Regions from separate parts of the Homo sapiens genome. Here all the other regions are linked to region 2. The links are contacts of gene promoters, found by promoter capture Hi-C in blood cells and fetal thymus (Javierre and others, 2016). All regions are on one chromosome and are shown on one strand. Each heading gives the region's core, a stretch centred on a gene start or on the middle of the fragment in contact. The rest is flanking DNA. Distances are from core to core; before and after follow the strand shown.

What was found. The method cuts DNA at HindIII sites, captures the fragments that hold promoters and counts their contacts. A CHiCAGO score of 5 or more calls a contact.
Region 1: a fragment that was not itself captured here is called in contact with the fragment with the promoter of LRRC8D in region 2 in 2 of 17 cell types (total B cells and total CD8 T cells); the score reaches 5.2 in total B cells.
Region 3: a fragment that was not itself captured here is called in contact with the fragment with the promoter of LRRC8D in region 2 in 14 of 17 cell types (megakaryocytes, erythroblasts, endothelial precursors and 11 more); the score reaches 17.1 in megakaryocytes.
Region 4: a contact is called between a fragment that was not itself captured here and the fragment with the promoter of LRRC8D in region 2, in 1 of 17 cell types (fetal thymus). The highest score is 5.2, in fetal thymus.
Region 5: a fragment that was not itself captured here is called in contact with the fragment with the promoter of LRRC8D in region 2 in 17 of 17 cell types (erythroblasts, megakaryocytes, activated CD4 T cells and 14 more); the score reaches 17.4 in erythroblasts.
Region 6: a fragment that was not itself captured here is called in contact with the fragment with the promoter of LRRC8D in region 2 in 1 of 17 cell types (total B cells); the score reaches 5.1 in total B cells.

Annotation. Positions count from the first base shown.
Region 1 is chr1:89,576,714-89,579,667 of GRCh38, forward strand. It overlaps LRRC8B (leucine rich repeat containing 8 VRAC subunit B), which reads left to right. Exons shown (of 6, transcript NM_001369817.2): 4 at 2,878-2,954. It overlaps LOC128092251, which reads left to right and starts at 2,879. Exons shown (of 1, transcript NM_001414942.1): 1 at 2,879-2,941. The coding sequence starts at 2,879. The coding sequence ends at 2,941. The HindIII fragment of the contact is 1,247 bases long and covers 668-1,914 here.
Region 2 is chr1:89,819,546-89,822,385 of GRCh38, forward strand. LRRC8D (leucine rich repeat containing 8 VRAC subunit D) reads left to right here and starts at 1,487. Exons shown (of 3, transcript NM_001134479.2): 1 at 1,487-1,746. It overlaps LRRC8D-DT (LRRC8D divergent transcript), which reads right to left and starts at 2,249. Exons shown (of 1, transcript NR_185885.1): 1 at 629-2,249. RefSeq lists silencers at 1,016-1,075, 1,516-1,865, 1,966-2,065, 2,156-2,365, 2,237-2,456. The HindIII fragment of the contact is 10,555 bases long and covers 1-2,840 here.
Region 3 is chr1:89,950,393-89,953,104 of GRCh38, forward strand. No RefSeq gene overlaps it. Among named protein-coding and RNA genes, the nearest start is that of ZNF326, 43 kb to the right of the region's middle. The HindIII fragment of the contact is 1,915 bases long and covers 319-2,233 here.
Region 4 is chr1:90,042,822-90,045,593 of GRCh38, forward strand. No RefSeq gene overlaps it. Among named protein-coding and RNA genes, the nearest start is that of ZNF326, 49 kb to the left of the region's middle. The HindIII fragment of the contact is 2,926 bases long and covers 1-2,772 here.
Region 5 is chr1:89,970,263-89,973,032 of GRCh38, forward strand. It overlaps LOC105378847 (a long non-coding RNA gene), which reads left to right. Exons shown (of 3, transcript XR_001738142.2): 2 at 388-526. Among named protein-coding and RNA genes, the nearest start is that of ZNF326, 23 kb to the right of the region's middle. The HindIII fragment of the contact is 1,256 bases long and covers 640-1,895 here.
Region 6 is chr1:89,603,773-89,606,572 of GRCh38, forward strand. No RefSeq gene overlaps it. Among named protein-coding and RNA genes, the nearest start is that of LRRC8C-DT, 28 kb to the right of the region's middle. The HindIII fragment of the contact is 984 bases long and covers 948-1,931 here.

The DNA of each region.
Region 1 (2,954 bases), core at 41-2,540, 240 kb before region 2:
AATCTTTCTTTCTAGGTCTCAAAACTACGACTGAGTTTGGGAAGCATGTTTGTTATTTGAAAATCACTGTACTAACAAGATTTGAAAGAACTACAAAGGGACATAAGGAAACTAGTATATCAAATGTTATTGCCGGTGATCATTTAAGCACTTGAAATATGTTTAATGCTTGTCATTAAATCTCTCAAGAATGGTGAAATGAGTTACTTAGCATAAAGAAAAGGGGCATATTAATCAGAGATACTGATGCATTGTTTCCTAGAGAGAGAACTCAACAAAAGGCGAATTTAAATTTCAGTTAGATATATGTTAGTCCCAAGAAACATCTTAATGGGAAGTAGCACTAAACATTTTGAAGGGATATAAGGTGATTTTTAAATCAATTTTCAATGAGAGTAGTGTAGAGAACCGCTATTTGGAATTGTTCGGCTATAATCCCTGCCTGGGGTCAGAGACAGATCTTTGAAGTAGCGTCCTCTTCTCAGTATATAATGACACTAAATACCATCTGATCATCATTTGTTTATTTTTTCACTTGTTATTTTAGAAATGCTTTCAAAGTAAAATAAGGACTACTGGGAAGTAAAGATGCCTAACTTGAATGTTGATGTTACAGTCTTAGAGACTTTGGAGTAAGATTGTCAAGTGAATTCATGTGTTTTGAAAAAGCTTTTATGACTTCTTAATGAGGTTTAAAAGCTGAAATAATGGGATTAGAACCGTAAAATCCATTACTCTTAACATTTCTTTGGATTGATTTAGTGTGTTTGTATATTAGAAATAGATATTTTATTTGGATTGAATCATCATTGTTTACTAAAATATGGTCTGGAAACAATTTCCTGGACAGACAGTATTAAATGGCATAATGACAAAAGATAGCTATGCTTAAACTCTCTAGTTAAGCACTTCAAATAGGAAAATTATCATCATTTTATACATAGGAATGCTGAGATGTTTTATATATACTTAAATCCAGATGCTATATATTTAAATATTAAGTTTTAGTTCAGTAGAAAATATTTAGTAGGAAAATGTTTAGCTGAGAAAGTAGATTATATGTAACGGAAGACATTACAGAAAACTACATTTGCATCCTTATTCAAACCCAGTTATAATGCAGTTATAACCCAGTTATAATGCAGATATTGGATGAGTTGGGAAAGAGCGCTAATTAGCTTTTTCTTCAGCTTTTGAGAGACCTAAGACTGTGGCGTAGTTAATTGGATTGACTGAGGCCATGTGGTCTGGTGTGCATGAGGTTGGGATTTGAGTATGAGGACCTAAGTTCCAGTTGCAACTTTATTTCTTAGAGGTTTTGTCACCTTGGGCAAGGTTAATTCTTTGGGACTGCCTTAATTTCTATGCATATAAACATAAAGAGTAATACTATTTATTTCAATGGCTTGTTTTAAGTATAAAACAAATTAATGTAAATGAGACATGCTTTGAAGGTAGAAAAACAGATGTTAAATTATTAATAAAGTAGAAAGTATATTTCTAATATTTAAGGAGAACTGTATAAGAAGAATCATGGCTGAGTAACATTTTTGAATTATGCAATAAATTCTTTTCTGGCATGTTACAAATGCAGCCGCTATGGAAGAATATGTAAAATGTTTCACACATCAGATGTCTTTATCATGCTCAGTGCACATAAATGCAGTCATGTGATATATGTTGTAAGACTTTTATAAAGGCTTGTGAATTGTGAATGAGAAATCTTACTCCAGTTGTGCCCTGTAGTTATGAATTAGTGTACAGCTAGGTTCTTATACATACTAACTGTGCTTTCTAACCTGCAAAACAATTTGATGCTGGATGGTGACTAATTGTAAAATAGGCTTTGCACATGACTTGGTAAACCCAAAGTAAGTTTTGGACATGCCCAAATTTTTGATATTTGAAATGACAAGCTTAAAAGATTATTGCTAAAAGTATCTTAAATACAATTTGGGGTCAGTACTCTTAGGAAGATTTGAAGTACTTTTTAAAAAGGATTGTATAATACAAAATCTCCCTAGAAACTTTTTTTTTGAGGTTTCATAGGCACTAAAAGATATAATTTTTACTTTCAATTAAAAACAAATTCTAGCATTTTACAATTTTCTCACAGTTCAAATTATCAATATATATGTAATTTAACTATCACAAATTATTGAACTATAAATGTTACAAATGGCTTTTATTAAACTCTAAATTAAACAAATCTAATATAAAGCCTAAGTATGTTTAATAATAACATAATTTCAAGTAATTTCAGCCATATTTCTGAGCTGTATCTGAAAAAGTATATTAACTTATCACTTTTTCTAATGAGATTGGTAGGCTAAATTTTAGGAGCACTGAGACTTATTTGGATAGATGTTTGGTTTTAAATATGGGTACAGAAATCACTTGGTGTGACAAGCTGTCTGAAAAATGCAAATAAGAACGACTGTGTTTGAGGAATGAGTGAGAGAAATTAACATATGTCGACTACTTAGAAAAGCTGTGTTCATCTAAGTGTTGTAGACACAGAATTTTAAAATATGTTGTGTTTAAATTGCTGTGGGAACTAACCTGTAATTGAAAGGAAGTTCAGGGAGTGAGTATGGTTTAATGAATGTGAGTGGGGCCCTGTAGATACACCTTTGCCAGAATGTGCCCCAGTGTGAAAAGTAAACTGACCTATGAAAATCTAAGCCAGGCACAGTGGCTCACACCTGTAATCCCAGCATTTGAGAGGCCAAGGTGGAAGGATTGCTTGAGGCCCAGAGTGTGAAAATCTATTTGCCATGTCATGTCTTATGACTGAGAGGGCTTCTGGAGACAGTATCTCCAGTTTGTTTGTTTGAATGACTGTAGCTATTTCAAGATATCTATGTTTTCTCATAGAATGAAGACAAACACAGAGATGGTGTGTCTAAGAAACTTCAAAAGGTGTAGACCTCCTGACTGAAGCATATTGGATT
Region 2 (2,840 bases), core at 237-2,736:
CAGCAAAACATTCCATATTCATTATAATAGTGGGCTGTTTTCAATAAAAATATCACACCACTAGTTGTTAAGTTTTAAAAGACCTCTCATCTCTTAGATCAGCAAATCTGACACTGATTAGATCACTTACACACACTCCCTGCCCATACACCTCCTTCTTGGCAGTGTGTGGAACAGGAGTGGCTGCTGGCAAGGAGGGTCGGGGAAGGAAAGTGAGAGCAAAAGGGCCGAGGGCTCAGAATCTGGTGGCATCTTGTAACGGGTCTCGGGCAGTCCCTTGAGTGTATTCTGGACCTCTCTGTTCATGTTCCTGTTTGGGCTGCTCTTCTTCACGTCCAATGCCTGAGGGCCAAGTGCTCACCATCCAAGGGTCAATTCTATCAGCTCCTCTCTGAATCCTTTTCTGAAACCCTGGACAATCATTCTCTTTAATGTCTCACTGTCTCTGAACCGACACCTTCCTGAGTACCTGTAACATTTGTGCAGCATGCTTATTAAGAATATTTAGATGCTGGGTAAACGTTGATTGAACATTTGCTGACATGGAGAGATATTGGTAGAAGACAGATTAGACTTCCGATGGTTTACAGAAACACATGGATTCAGATAAAAGAAGATATGAAAGCACTGGGTTGAACCACATATTTTATTACAACCAAATAACTCCAAATATCCCGCCTTAATTTATTTATTGGCCCCTGCCTCTGCTCACCCACAAAAAAGACTGCAAATGAACCCCGATCCTACAACAACAACAACAAAAAACGGTGACATTATCGGGCTGCAAAACCCTCTTAGCATAGAATAATCTTTTCATCTGCCTCTTTCAGATGTAACATATTTTTGACGAAAAGAATGGGATGAAAACGGCGGGCTCAGATAAAAACAAGAACCGACTTTCCAATACAGCTTCAATAACAGACGGAACACATGAAGCTGAGAAACTCTCCATGCCAAGTAGTAGTTGTGTGTGCCCCAAAGCTCAGATAAGTACTTCTCCTTAGAGTTGGAAGGCACTTAAGTGACTTTTTAACGTAATTCAACTCCCCACCCCCAGCGCCAAGTCTTAATATCAGAGTTTTAGTCGACGGGACAGCCTCCTTCGCCCAGGACGGGTGAAGGCTCCTGACCATGCCTCGCAGCTAACTGGCAGCTGCGCCTGCCCGGCACCGAGCCCTGCCCAGGTGGACGCTTGCGAGAGCATTACGGCGATGGTTATGTAGGCTGCCGTTCTTCCCCTCCCAAGCACCTGCTCCGCATCTAGCAGTCGCTCGCCGCCAGTCTCCAACCCCGGGTCCCCTCCCTCGCCACACAGACCCCGTCCGGTCAGGCGCTGCAGGGCCACCGGAGAAAGCGCTCGCAATCACATGGAGGCCCGGGCCCGCCCCATTGGCTGCGGCCGGGCCAGTCGCGGCACTCGCCGGCTGCGGTTGGTCCCAGAGCTGCAGCGCCTGCACGGGCCCGGAGTCCATGTTACGCTTTGTCTAATTCCCCTCGTTACAGAGTCATGTGCTGCTGCTCCCGTCGCCGCTGCTGCCGCTGCCGCTGCCGCCGCCCGTGGTGCCCCGGCTCCTCCGCCGCGCTTCGAGGTGGCAGCCGCGGGCGGGGCCGCGGGAGCAGGGTCCAGGGTGCAGCGCGCCTTCGCCGCCCCGGCGCGTCCCGGTGCAGCCGCCGCCCGCCGCGGGTGATGCCGCCACCTCCGGCCTCAGCATAAGCCGTGGCTTGGCGGCCGAGCTGCACCCCAAGGTTGGTGCGCACCTCTCCCGGCAGGGGCCGGGGGCTGCGAGGGAAGGCGACGCGCAGGTGGAGCCGCGCCGAGCCGGAGCGCGCAACCCTGGCGCAGGCGCCGCGGCCCGAGCTGCGGTTGCGGCCGGGAACTCATTCGGGGACGTCCGGGGGTCGGGAGGAGGTGGCGGCGAGCGGAGTGGGCTCCCGTTTGCTGCCGCCAGGGCCTGGGAGATTGTTCCGCTTTCTGCAGTCTGAGCGTCGGCCGCTTCGGCCCCGGGCGGCCGGCCCTGCGGGAGGGGAGTGCGGCTTCCTGGCTCCTGAACCCCTCGCGCGCGCTCCCTTCTCTCACCTCCCTCCGCCCTATCGGAAAGGCGGGGAGAGCCGGTTTCGGCTCTGCTGGTTCCTCCCGGAGGTGGGTGTTTGGTGTCTGGCCTTGCTGGCCCGGCGTCCAAAGGTGAGCCCTTTAACTTCTCCAGAATCGCCTCCCCTCCGCTTCCTTCCTGTGCAGGGTGGGCTGCGCTGGGAGCCCGGCGGGCGGGGGCGGGGAGGTGAAGGCCCGCGCCCCGCCCCCCGCGCCTGTGGGAGGGAGCTGGGGGCCCGCAGGTGCACCCAGCCGTCCGCGGGCCGTCTCCGGGTTGGGTACCGGTATAATCCGCTTCTAGCTTGTTTGGAGGCGTGGGCTCTTGGGAGCGGGACTTCTGCTCAAATCCTGTCCAGGGGCTTGAAAAGGAGGAGAATTGGGGGTGGTTGCCGGGAGGACCAGCACCTCCAGTTACTGGAGGGTTGATAGGGGCCTTCTCCTTTCCGTCACCCTTTACTAGGGGGTATCCCTTGCAGATAAATGAGATTTTTTGATTTCTTAAAAAGCCAGCTGCAGTGAAGAAGAACTGCTGCAGGTCGAGGGGAAGAGAGGTAGGTCCTTGCTGGAGAGGGAGAGGTGGGCTGTGAGGTTCCAGGAGCACGCACTTGGGGTGTGTGTGGCCGAAAGTATGGAGGTAGGGTTGTGGGAAGGAAACAGCCGAGATGAGAGGGAGGGCGCACTCAGGATGTAGGCGGAGAGATGGGGAATAGGTACTGGGGAGTCCTAGCGGAATGTGGGGCCCAGCTGGAGC
Region 3 (2,712 bases), core at 26-2,525, 130 kb after region 2:
ACACAAAAAGGCAAAGGTGTCAGGACCTTTCTTTATGGACCTTGTCCCTGGATTGTGTTGCACTGTTTGCATAAAGTTAAACTTTAAATTTGCATATCTAACCTGTGGTTACCAAGTTGTTCTGGTCTGGATAATCCTTGGTTTCAGCCTGGAGCAAGCAGAGAACAATCTCCTCTCAAACTTTGTGCTGCTATTCCACCTTGAGAAGGTTTGGTTAACAAGTCAATCTTAATATTAAAGAAAAGTGATACCAGACTGGAGAAAATACTCAACACAGTACATTCCGAATGTACTTTGATAATTTTGGAGGTGGTTAGAAGCTTTGGTCCCTTTAAAGAAAGCCCCTTGGGACAGCTTGCAGACTATAGCTAGAAGCAAGTTAGAGGTTAGAGAAGTCAGTTTCTTTCTTTAAAAAAAAATTTTTTTTTAAGAGACAAGGTCTTGCTGTGTTGCCCAGGCTGGAGTGCAGTGTGCAATCATAGCTCATTGCTGCCTCAAACTCCTACCCTCAAGGGATCCTCCCACCTCAGCTTCCCCAATAGCTAGAACTATAGGCAGGCAACAGCATGTCGAGGGGCTAATTTTTTTTTTTTTTTTTTTTTTTTTTTTGTAGAGACAGGGCCTTGCTATGTTGCTCAGACTGGTCTCAAACTCCTGGCCTCAAGCGATCCTTCTGCCTCTGCCTCCCAAAGCTCTGGGATTATAGGTGTGTGTTACCGCACCAAGCCAAATAAGCCATTTTCTAAAATAAAAAGTTTTATCCTTTCTCCCTCATTCTTTCTCTTGTCACAGTGTTTTTAATTGGTTACCAAATAGCATTCTAAATAAAAAAAAATTTTTTTAATTATTAGCATACATTTTACCACTTATCTGTATATTATACAATGTTCTTTTAAAATGCAAATATGGCCAGGCAGGGTGGCTCACGCCTGTAATCCCAGCACTTTGGGAGGCTGAGGCGGGCGGATCACAAGGTTGGGAGTTCGAGACCAGCCTGGCCAACATGGTGAGACCCCCCCATCTCTACTAAAAATACAAAAAAAATTAGCCGGGCATGATGGCAGGCGCCTGTAGTCCCAGCTACTTGGGAGGCTGAGGCAGGAGAATCGCTGGAACCTGGGAGGTTCAAGTGAAGGTGAGAAAGAGAAATCAAGAATGTCAACTAGATTTATGTTTTGATCAACACATACCAGGTGACACCATTTCCTGAGAGGTAAAACAGCAACAACAAAAATAACAACTTGTATTTCAGACAAATAGAAAATTATGAAGAATAACTTAACTTCTAAAACATTCATTTGTATGTATGCTGATGCAAATTTCATTTAGAATCTGACGTTAAAATGAAGAGAGAAGGGCAAATGCATCTAAGACTTTAGAATATTTTTGGTAATAATGTGTTAGGTAAGAAAAGAATATCTGGATAAGCGATGTAACTACTCTGGCAAATGATGTTTTACATTATAATGCAAGTTAAATAGACTATTTTGCCTATGCCTGGAATTTTCCAGTGGAGGTAGATGATTTCTTAGAACAGGGATGAGTGGAAAGTTAGGGTATTTCTGAAGACCCACTAGTGAAATAGCAGTGTTTCTCCCTCAGAGATTGTTCCCTTTTTGATTCCTATGACTAATTCTGTCATTTGCAGGAGTTTAAGAAAAAGTTACATTTTTTTTCCAGCTATGTCTCTAACACATTTTTCTGGCACTGTTTATAAGCTCAAATTTCCAGTTGAAAGGATGGTTAAGATTGAATTACTCTTCAAATTCCTTTTTCCTTTCACAGTTGTTTTTCCTTGACGAAGTCTCTTTGTCACTATCAAGGTTAAGTGAAGTCACTATTGAAGGAAAGAACAGAAGGAATTTGGAATGCTTTTCCATTAACTTCTGAACCACAGTGACTTATTCCTTGAGAATCTCCAGTAAGGCTTAGGGTCTTTCGGATAAGTCATTTTGGAGAAATGTTTTCTTCTTTTGCTGTTAGGTTGACATGGCAAAAGAAATAATATTATTTGTGTTAACCTTTGTCCTAGTATGTTATTGCTCAAAGCAAGGTTGTAGATACCATGAGAATTATGCCTAAATGATACAAAATTGCATTTTCACCACCCAGTACTGCACATGGCAGATATTTGGTAGGCATTAGTTGAATTACAAATTCCAAGAATCTGCTAGAAATCGTAGATTGGTTCCTTTCATCTTGCAGATAGCGTGATGGAAGAAGAGGAGTTGAAAGCTTTTAGCTCCTAGGCAAAAAGTCACATGTTGTTTAGAAATCTCACTATTTCCTCTGAAATTGAAGGCATCATATTTTTAAGGACATTTTGTAGAGCAAGGCCCTGAATCTGAAACCACCTTTGCAGAGATTATGATAGCGAGACCAGTCTAGCATGGCTGACTCCATCTTGCTTCTAGCCTCACAGCCTGGCTGTCTTTCCTCATTGCTGGGCATAGACCAAGCTAACCATGGGAGGAATTTAGTCATATAGTCATAGTTTACCTTTTTTTTTTTTTTTTTAACTAAATAGGGATGAGGTCTTGCTATGTTGACCAGGCTGGTCTCAAACTGCTGGTCTCAAGCCATACTCCCATCTCGGCCTCCCAAAGTGCTTGAGATTACAGGCATGAGCCACCACTCCCAGCCTATAGTTTAACTTTAAAGCAAGATGATAATAGTCCTTTTCTAAAAGTAATCTCTTTATTAACAGACTGA
Region 4 (2,772 bases), core at 168-2,667, 220 kb after region 2:
GTGATCCTGCCCCTGTCTTTCTAATCTCTTGCCACTCTTCCCCTTACCCATTATGCCACAGGTACACTGGCCTTTTTACTCCTCTGATATACAACACTTGTTTCTGTCTTTTAGCCATTGTGGTTATTGTTTTCTTTGCCCAGAATGCTCTTTTCCCAAACCTTTGCATAACTGGTTCCCTTTCATCATTCAGCTATGTTAAATTGCAGCTTCCTCAGAGAGGACTTCTCATATAGTCATTCTCTATCCCATCACTCTGTTACCACTCACCACTATCTAAAATTATTTTATTTATTTGCTTATCACATGTCTCCTTCACTGGAATGTAAGCCCCATGAGAACAATAATTTTGTCGTTTAATTCGGCACTGGTACCTCAGCACTTAGAATGGCAGGCACTCAATGAACACAACCAAGGTTTTCTCAATGGGTCGTTACAGCTTTTTCCCTCAGGATTAGTTTCACAATGACTCTTAATTTGAATCCCTTCTAGATGTGTAAGACTCTTCCTATATGATGTTTTGATAAGATATTTGACTTTTATGCACTGAAGAGTCTTTGAATAACAGAGCTACATTATCTTTTAAAAATGTTCTCTTACATATACCCTAAACTACCTTGAGAGCTTGAGAATCATCTTGGTTGTATTTGGCTGCAAGCAACAAAAGTCTATGTATGTTGGCTTAAAGAAACAGGGTTTACTTTTCTCACGTAACAAGAAGTCTGGAGTTAGATGACTATTTGTATCGGATCAGCTGCTCAGTGTTGTCTGAGTCAGCGTCTCAATTTTTTTGGCCTTCCCCACAAAATCTCAAGATGCAGTTGCAACTCCAGGTAATGTATCTACATTAAAGATAGAAAGAAGGGATAGTAGGGAAGGTTGTCCCTAGACCTATCTGTCTCCTTTATCAGGAAAGCAAATATTTTCCTGGGAATTCTCTAACAGACCTTTGCCTCTGTCTCTTTGATTAGAACTGGGTCACATGGCCATTCCTATCTGTCTATAGTAAAAGATGGGAAGAAAGAAAGGGGTTGGGAATTACTGTCGTGTCAGTTTTCCAACGGAATCTGTCAGAGAAGCTGAAGAAGCAAGCATACCACTGGAATAGCAACACGCTCTGGGAAATAGTATCAACATGCTATGATTCAAAGGAAGACAACAGAAATAAATAATGATAGCTTCAAATTGTTGAACATGAATGTACCATGATTGCATTAGTTGCCTTGCATTTAGTATGTTACTTAGTGCTCACCCAAACTCAGATAAGGAAACTGAGGCTCAGAGAGGTGAAGTAACTTCCAGTCCCACCCCAGCTCACACAGCTGGTAAGGAGCAGTGGCGGAATTCATGCCTGGTTCTGATTCCAGTGACTGAGCACTTAACTCTTTTCTGAGTACACTTAAAATGGCTAATAATTTTTAAAACCAGGGAATCCATAAAATTAGACCCAGAAGTTAATCAGTTGCCGAGCGCGGTGGCTCACGCCTGTAATCCCAGCACTTTGAGAGGCCAAAGCAGGCAGATCACTTGAGGTCAGGAGTTTGAGACCAGCCTGGCCAACATGGTGAAACCTCATCTCTACTGAAAATACAAAAATCAGCCGAATGTGATGGCCGTGCCTGTAATCCCAGCTACTTGACAGGCTGAGGTGCGAGAATTGCTTGAACCCAGGAGGCGCAGGTTGCTGTGAGCTGAGATCACACCACTGCACTCCAGCCTGTGCAACAGAGTGAGACTGTCTCGAAAAAGAAAAAAAAAAAGTTAATCAGTTACTTTTGCTTGGGAAGTGAGTAATGACCCTGAAGCTCATCTATCTAGTAACATTTAACACATGTATTAATTTATTCAAATATGTATTAAAACACATGCAGTGTATTCTGCTAGATATTATGTATGAGAGGGGCATAAAATGAATGAAATACACATAAATGTAAAATTTCATACTGCATTTATGAAATTTTCAGTCTGGAAGGAAAAGTAAGACTTGCACAGAAAGAGAATACAAATTGGAAAGTGGCAGATATTAGACTGTTAGATCCACGAGGATAGGGATTATGTCTGTTTTGGTTTGCCCCAATTTTGCCCTTACCAGGCATATTCCTGTACACAGCAGAAATTGAGCACATATTTGTTCATTTGAACAAAAGAAAGGAACAGATAGAATGTGATTAGACTTCAGAGAAGGAAAGATATATTCCAATGGAAGGAATTAGGCAAGGCTTTGCAATGGAAGTGGTATTTAACCTAGGACTTGAATGATGCAAATGATTTGGAGCTAAAGAACTGAAGATGATGGGAGTGGTAGAAGAACAGCATTCACGGAAGAAGTATCAGCAGGAGCAAGGCACAGAAGAAAATCATGCACTGTCTCTAGGGAACAATATGTGCCTTATATGCAGGTCACTTGAATGCAGTAGAAGAATCAGTGGGTGGCAGGTCATGGAGAGCCTTGGATGCTAGCCTAGAGGGTTTGGATTTTTGTCTGAGGCATGAGGGAGACAATGGGGTGAAATGAGCAGAGCTGTACTTCAGGAGGATGAACCTGCCAGCAATTTTAAGATGTATTGGAATGAAGACAAGCTGGTATGAGGTGGAGAGTGCAGTTAGAAGGCTAGTGTAACATTCCAGACAGAAAAGGTGACGCCCCAAGGAAGGCCTAAACATGGGTAGCTGGAGAGGAGGCAACAGGTTTAAAAGATGTGCATAGAAGAAGGCAGTACCTGCCATTCATTTGAAGCAGGAGGTCAGTGAGATGGAAAAATATCAAAGATG
Region 5 (2,770 bases), core at 18-2,517, 150 kb after region 2:
CATTTCTCATTCCTTGACCTCCTCTCTCACCTGGGCCGCTGGTTTCTTATGGCTTATAGGAAAGCATTCCACTCAATGAAGCAATTCATATTGAGGTGTGAGTTGCTAATAGACCACCCTCTTAGCAGGCTGTAGGTATTTTAAAACTTATTACCCTCCACCAGAAGATTATGTATGAGATATTTTTTGAATTGAAGAGAGAATAGGAGTATATTTTCCAATGCCCCCTGTTATGGGCTACATTGTGACACCCCCAAATTTATATGTTGAAGCCCCAAACCCCAGTACCTTAGGAATTATTTGAAGATAGAGTCTTTAAAGAGACAAGGCTAAAGGAGGTCATTGGGGTAGGCCCTAATCCAAAATGTCTTGTGTCCTTATCAAAAGAGATTAGGACGCAGACACACACAGAGGGAAGACCATGTAAAGACAGAGAGAAGATGGCCATCTATAAGCCAAGAAGAGAGGCCCCAGAAGAAATGAACGCTGCTAATACCTTGATCCAGGGCTTCTTGCCTCCAGAATGGTGAGAAAATAGATTTCTGTTGTTTAAGCTACCCAGTCTGTGGTACTTGGTTATGACAGCCCTAGAAAATGAAAATGGTCCCTTATTTTTGTCACATACCTTTTGTAGATTAAAGCTTCTGGGACCAGATTCCAGATTAGTTCTCTGAATTCTCTGTTCTGCTTTTTCATTCCATGGCAAACCCCAGAACTTCAGTCTGTGGGTTCACCATGGGGAACATGCATGGCATTTAATCATCATGGTACTTATGGTGGTGGTTATGATTGATTGCAGATTGGGAATCCGAGTGTCAGGGAGGTTATATATCTTGTCTAAAGCAATCATTTATTCAACAAGTATTTATTGAACATCTATACGATATTTATATAGCAGGCACTATGAGAGATGCTGGAGTCACATCAAACTGACTTTGCCCTGCCCTCATAGAGCTAAAGGATTAGTAAGAAAAACAGATTTTAAATAAGTAATTATGTAATTATAATAAGTATCTGTGAATGTGATGACTTATGAAGGAGCATAACATTTTAGTAGGAGAGCCAAATCAGCTTAGCTCCACCCAAAACAAATTTAGTGAGCACCTATTATATGCCAAACATTGTGCTAAGTGTTTGAGAAATATCAGGGAACATGACAGATATGGACTCTTCCCTCATAGAACTTCCATGTCTAAAAGGAAAAGAAGACATCAAACAAGGCGTACAAATGAAAGAGAGATGTTACAAGGCTTAACTTCAAGATTATGTGTGAGCATTTGGCAAAGGCATATAATTTAGCATAAGAAGTCCAGGTAGGCCTCCTGGAAGAATCACTGTGCATACTGTGACCTGAAGAATCAGGTAGCTGTGAGCCTGACAGAGGTGTTGGAAGCCTTCTTCAGTGAGGTCATCTCCTGTTTAGACAGTGCTTTCCTCCCTGTACATTTTCTCTGAAGGCATCTTTGCTCTGCCTGCCCATAAACATGTTACTCAGCTAGAATACTGAACACTAACCAGAGAGCTATTTCAGTACTGTCTTGTCTAGAATGGGACTTTACCTTTTAGGGCATAAGCCTGAGAGCTTCCCACCTCAGAGGGTGACTTTAGATTGCTTCCTCTCCCTTACTATTCTGTTTGTGGCAGACGCTGGGGGTTGGCTTATCCAAAACCTTTTTCCTTATTGCCCTCTACTATAGAAGCCAGAAAGCCAGAATATTTATCTCCTGACTTAAATGTTGTGAGAGGCTACTAAGTCTGTCAATCTTAGGTGTTTTTGTTTGTTTTTCCCTTTTGTTTTTATTTGCAAAATATGCCCCCAATTGATTCATTCATTGTCCTACCTCTCTGGTAACAACAACAACAAAAAAAACCAGAGGCTTGAACCACTATACCTAAGCTTTGAAAGAATCCAGATACTTTCTTAATTCTGTTTCATGTCAGGATATTCCTGGTTGGAAAGCTCTTGGCATTACAACAAATTCAAGCTGAATCATATTTGTTTAGACTATTATATTCAGGATTGCAGAGCCAGCTGCCTTTTGAAGTGCTTTGATTTAGATACCTGGGGCCCTCATATTTAATGCTTCTTGTTAAAACAGGTAAAAGTATTTGGGAATATGGCCCCTCCCAAAAGTTTGAACACAATAAAAAATGATGCAGATTATCTTTTAAAAAGTATAGATAGCCAAGCATGGTGGCTCACATTTGTAATCCCAGCACTTTGAAAGGCTGAGGCAGGCTGATCACCAGGAGTTTGAGACCAGCCTGGGCAACATAGCGAAACATCATCTCTACAAAGAATACAAAGATTAGCTAGGCATGGTAGTGCACACCTGTAGTCCCAGCTACCCCGGGGCAGGCTGCGGTGGGAGGATCTATTGAGTCCAGGAGGTTGAGGCTGAAGTGAGCTGAGATCACGCCACTGCACTCCAGCCGGGATGAAAGAGTGAGACCCTGTCTCCAAAAAGAAAAAAAGTATAGCTAAAGGAAAAATGGAAAAGGGAAAAATGAAGAGAGGAAAAAAAGGCAAAGGTATGAAAACTAGTTCTAGGTGGTGAGTCAGATTATACTTCCTTTTATAATATCTAGGTGAGTGGAAAATACAGCCTCCTGGATAAAGTCTTTGCTTGAGATAGAAAATTCCTTCAAATTACTCCTTTCTTCCAACTATTGTATCTTTTAGTCACAGAGAGGTGTTTAGAAAACAGATTTTGTAAGGCCATCACATTGTTCTGCAGTATAATTTAAAAAATAGTGTCTCTTTTTTTCC
Region 6 (2,800 bases), core at 190-2,689, 220 kb before region 2:
GCTTGGATGCTCGCTAGCTGGCCTTCCAACTCCAATATTCTGATCTACATAAAATGCTGAGTGAGTGGGAAGTGTTGATCATGTTTAATACTGAGTAATTTTCTTAAGAACTTGAGTATGTCATACATTTCTTTTTTCAGCTTTGGAAATGATTCACTTTTATGACACATGAATAAGACTTTTATTCACTAAAGAACCTCAAGCATAATAGCAAGTGAAGGAGGATGGAATTATCTTAAAGGGCTGTTCTGCAGTGCCTCCCCGTCAGGAGAGCCAAGTAGACAGTGAAGAGAAGCTATTTAGGGCAGTACAGTTAGAAACATTCCCAGCAGGGCCTTCACAATGCTCAGGTTACAATTCCCAGTTAAGAGAAATGTCCTGAGGTTGCACAGGTATAAAGGTGACCTGTGAGGTACTTGGCTGTCTTGGGCTTTAACACCAAAATTTGAAAGCTGAGGCTGACCCTTTATCACTGGCTTTCCTCCCAGAGTCTGACCTAGGGCAAATAGATGCCTGACAGTTTTAAGTTCTCCAGTTTCTGTTCAGCTGAGACCTGAGTGTCAGGTCAGCTAACAGGCTCCCCGTTGGAGAAACATGACTCTAGGTTTCAGTGCACTGAGAGATGTTAACTTCTGCCTGGTCTTAGGGTACAGCCCCACCTGGGTGCCAGCTCCAAGGGCAGACTATGCGCTCACCAGGTTCATCTGATAATGCAGTGGGCAGACATAGCTATGTGCTGTTCACTTGCTCTGTGCCCTCATGCCCAGTCTAAGACTGTCCAAGGCCCGGCCTAGTCTCTGCTTTATCTGGAAGAAGACAAGAGCATTTTCCTGGACTGACAGCCCAGAAGGTACTCATCTCCAACCTGGATCAGAGCCCTATTTTCACCAGTAACTCTTGAGTCATCTTGTACCTCTGAGCCTCAGCTTCCTCGTCTGTAAAATGTAAGCTTTATTTTATAAATATTGAGTGTCTGCTACTTACCCAGATGCTGCCTAAGGTATTGTGAATACAGTGGGGGACAGCAGGGACAAATAAGACCCACTCCTCATAGAAACAAACCTCATAAGATCTTAAGAGGATTCCACGAGATAATATGTGTAAAATGTTAGCATCTTGTCTGACCCTAGTGGTTGCTTTCTACGTTAGCTTTAATGAGTTTTCCTCCAAAGATGATAGAAAATATTTCAAAGTATGTCCTTTCCTGCCTTGGTCTGTGCACATGCATTTCTGCCAAAAAGGCTCTTCCTTAATTCCTATGCCTAGCTAACTCCTGTTCATCCAGTTCTCAGTATAAATGGTCACTTCTTCAAGGTGGCATTTTTCTGACCAGTCCATCCTTAGATCCCCCTGTTGTTTGTTCCCAGGGCAACTGGTACTATACTTTGAGGTATCCATCCTCTTGATAACTATGACTTATTTAGTGTCTGTTTCCCTGACTAGACTGTAAAGCTAGTGTAAACAGCATCCATGTTCACCAGAAATCTTGATGCTGAGCTTTGAGATTCTGCATAAACATCTGACCATCTTGCTGATATTTGAAGGGAATGTTCCCTTTCACATGAGAAAATTACATTGGACCAGAAAAGAAGAATCTGGCCCACCAGGAGCACATGGGTCCTTTCTTCCCTCTTTTCTCTCTCCTACCATGAAGAGGAGGGACGGCCAAGAAATGGCTGAAGAAAGGCCATTCCCAGGGCTGTACCCACATCTCTTAGAAGTAGCAGGTAGTCAGGGAACATAGGATGGAGAGTTGGGTTCCCCATTGTTCACAGGAACTTACCCAGTACCCATTCAAGGACCTACTGGGAATGGGGCAGTAAGGGTCTTCTTTGATACCATCTGCCACAGCCACACCCTTGTCCGTTCTCACCACAGCCAGGCAGCATGACTTAAAGGAGGTCTTGTTTCTTGTAACTATAGATAGTAGAAGCTTGATAAAATGAAATCTAAGGTCATAAGACTGGAATGGTGTCAGCCGCAGAAACGTCTCTGTCACCTTGTGTGAAAGATGCCCCCAGCCTCAGTACCTTTTGGAAGAGACCTTGGCAAAAATACAGCTGTTTACATGTGACTCACCAGAAATGTGAATGTTCTTGCCCTTTTGTGCCCTGTGGGATTTAACAAAGCAGCAATGTGACCTGACCCCAGTGGTTTTCTTTTGGCCAGAATCCAAGTCCTCCAGGCAGTGCTGGACTTCCCACATGCATTCCTGCCAGCCCACTATATGGAACTACAGGGCAGTCCTCTCTGCCAAGCCTTTCTAACCTCTATGTCTTTGTCCAGGCTGTTCCCTCAACCAGAAGTTCCTTTTTTCCATACATACACATATGAATAAACCTCAATTCATTCTTCAAGACTAAGATGATATCACTCTATAACTCCTCTAATCACCCTCTTTCCCCAAATTGGAGTTAGTTATTCTGAACCCTTATACCAATGTAGTGAGGTTATGGATTTCCCGCTCAGTCATCTGAAGGCAGAAACCAAATCTCGTTCATATTTGTGTCCCCTTCCACTAATATAGTATCTGCACCTATAATTTGTTACAGTATTCTACACTGTAGGTGCATAATGAATAAATAGCTGAAAGCTGGGCATTTGCAAGGTGTGTGCTGGCCAGTGGGTCAGCCAGGATGCCTAAGGGCAAAGGCACATGCCAGAAACCACTAATGGAGACTTTTGTGGACAAATTGTTGAAACAGTGAGAAGTTGTTAAATCCTTGTGGGTAAGAAAATGGCATAAGGAAGTAGTACTTTGGATACAGTCTTTGAGGGCATGGGTACAATGATGTTAAAG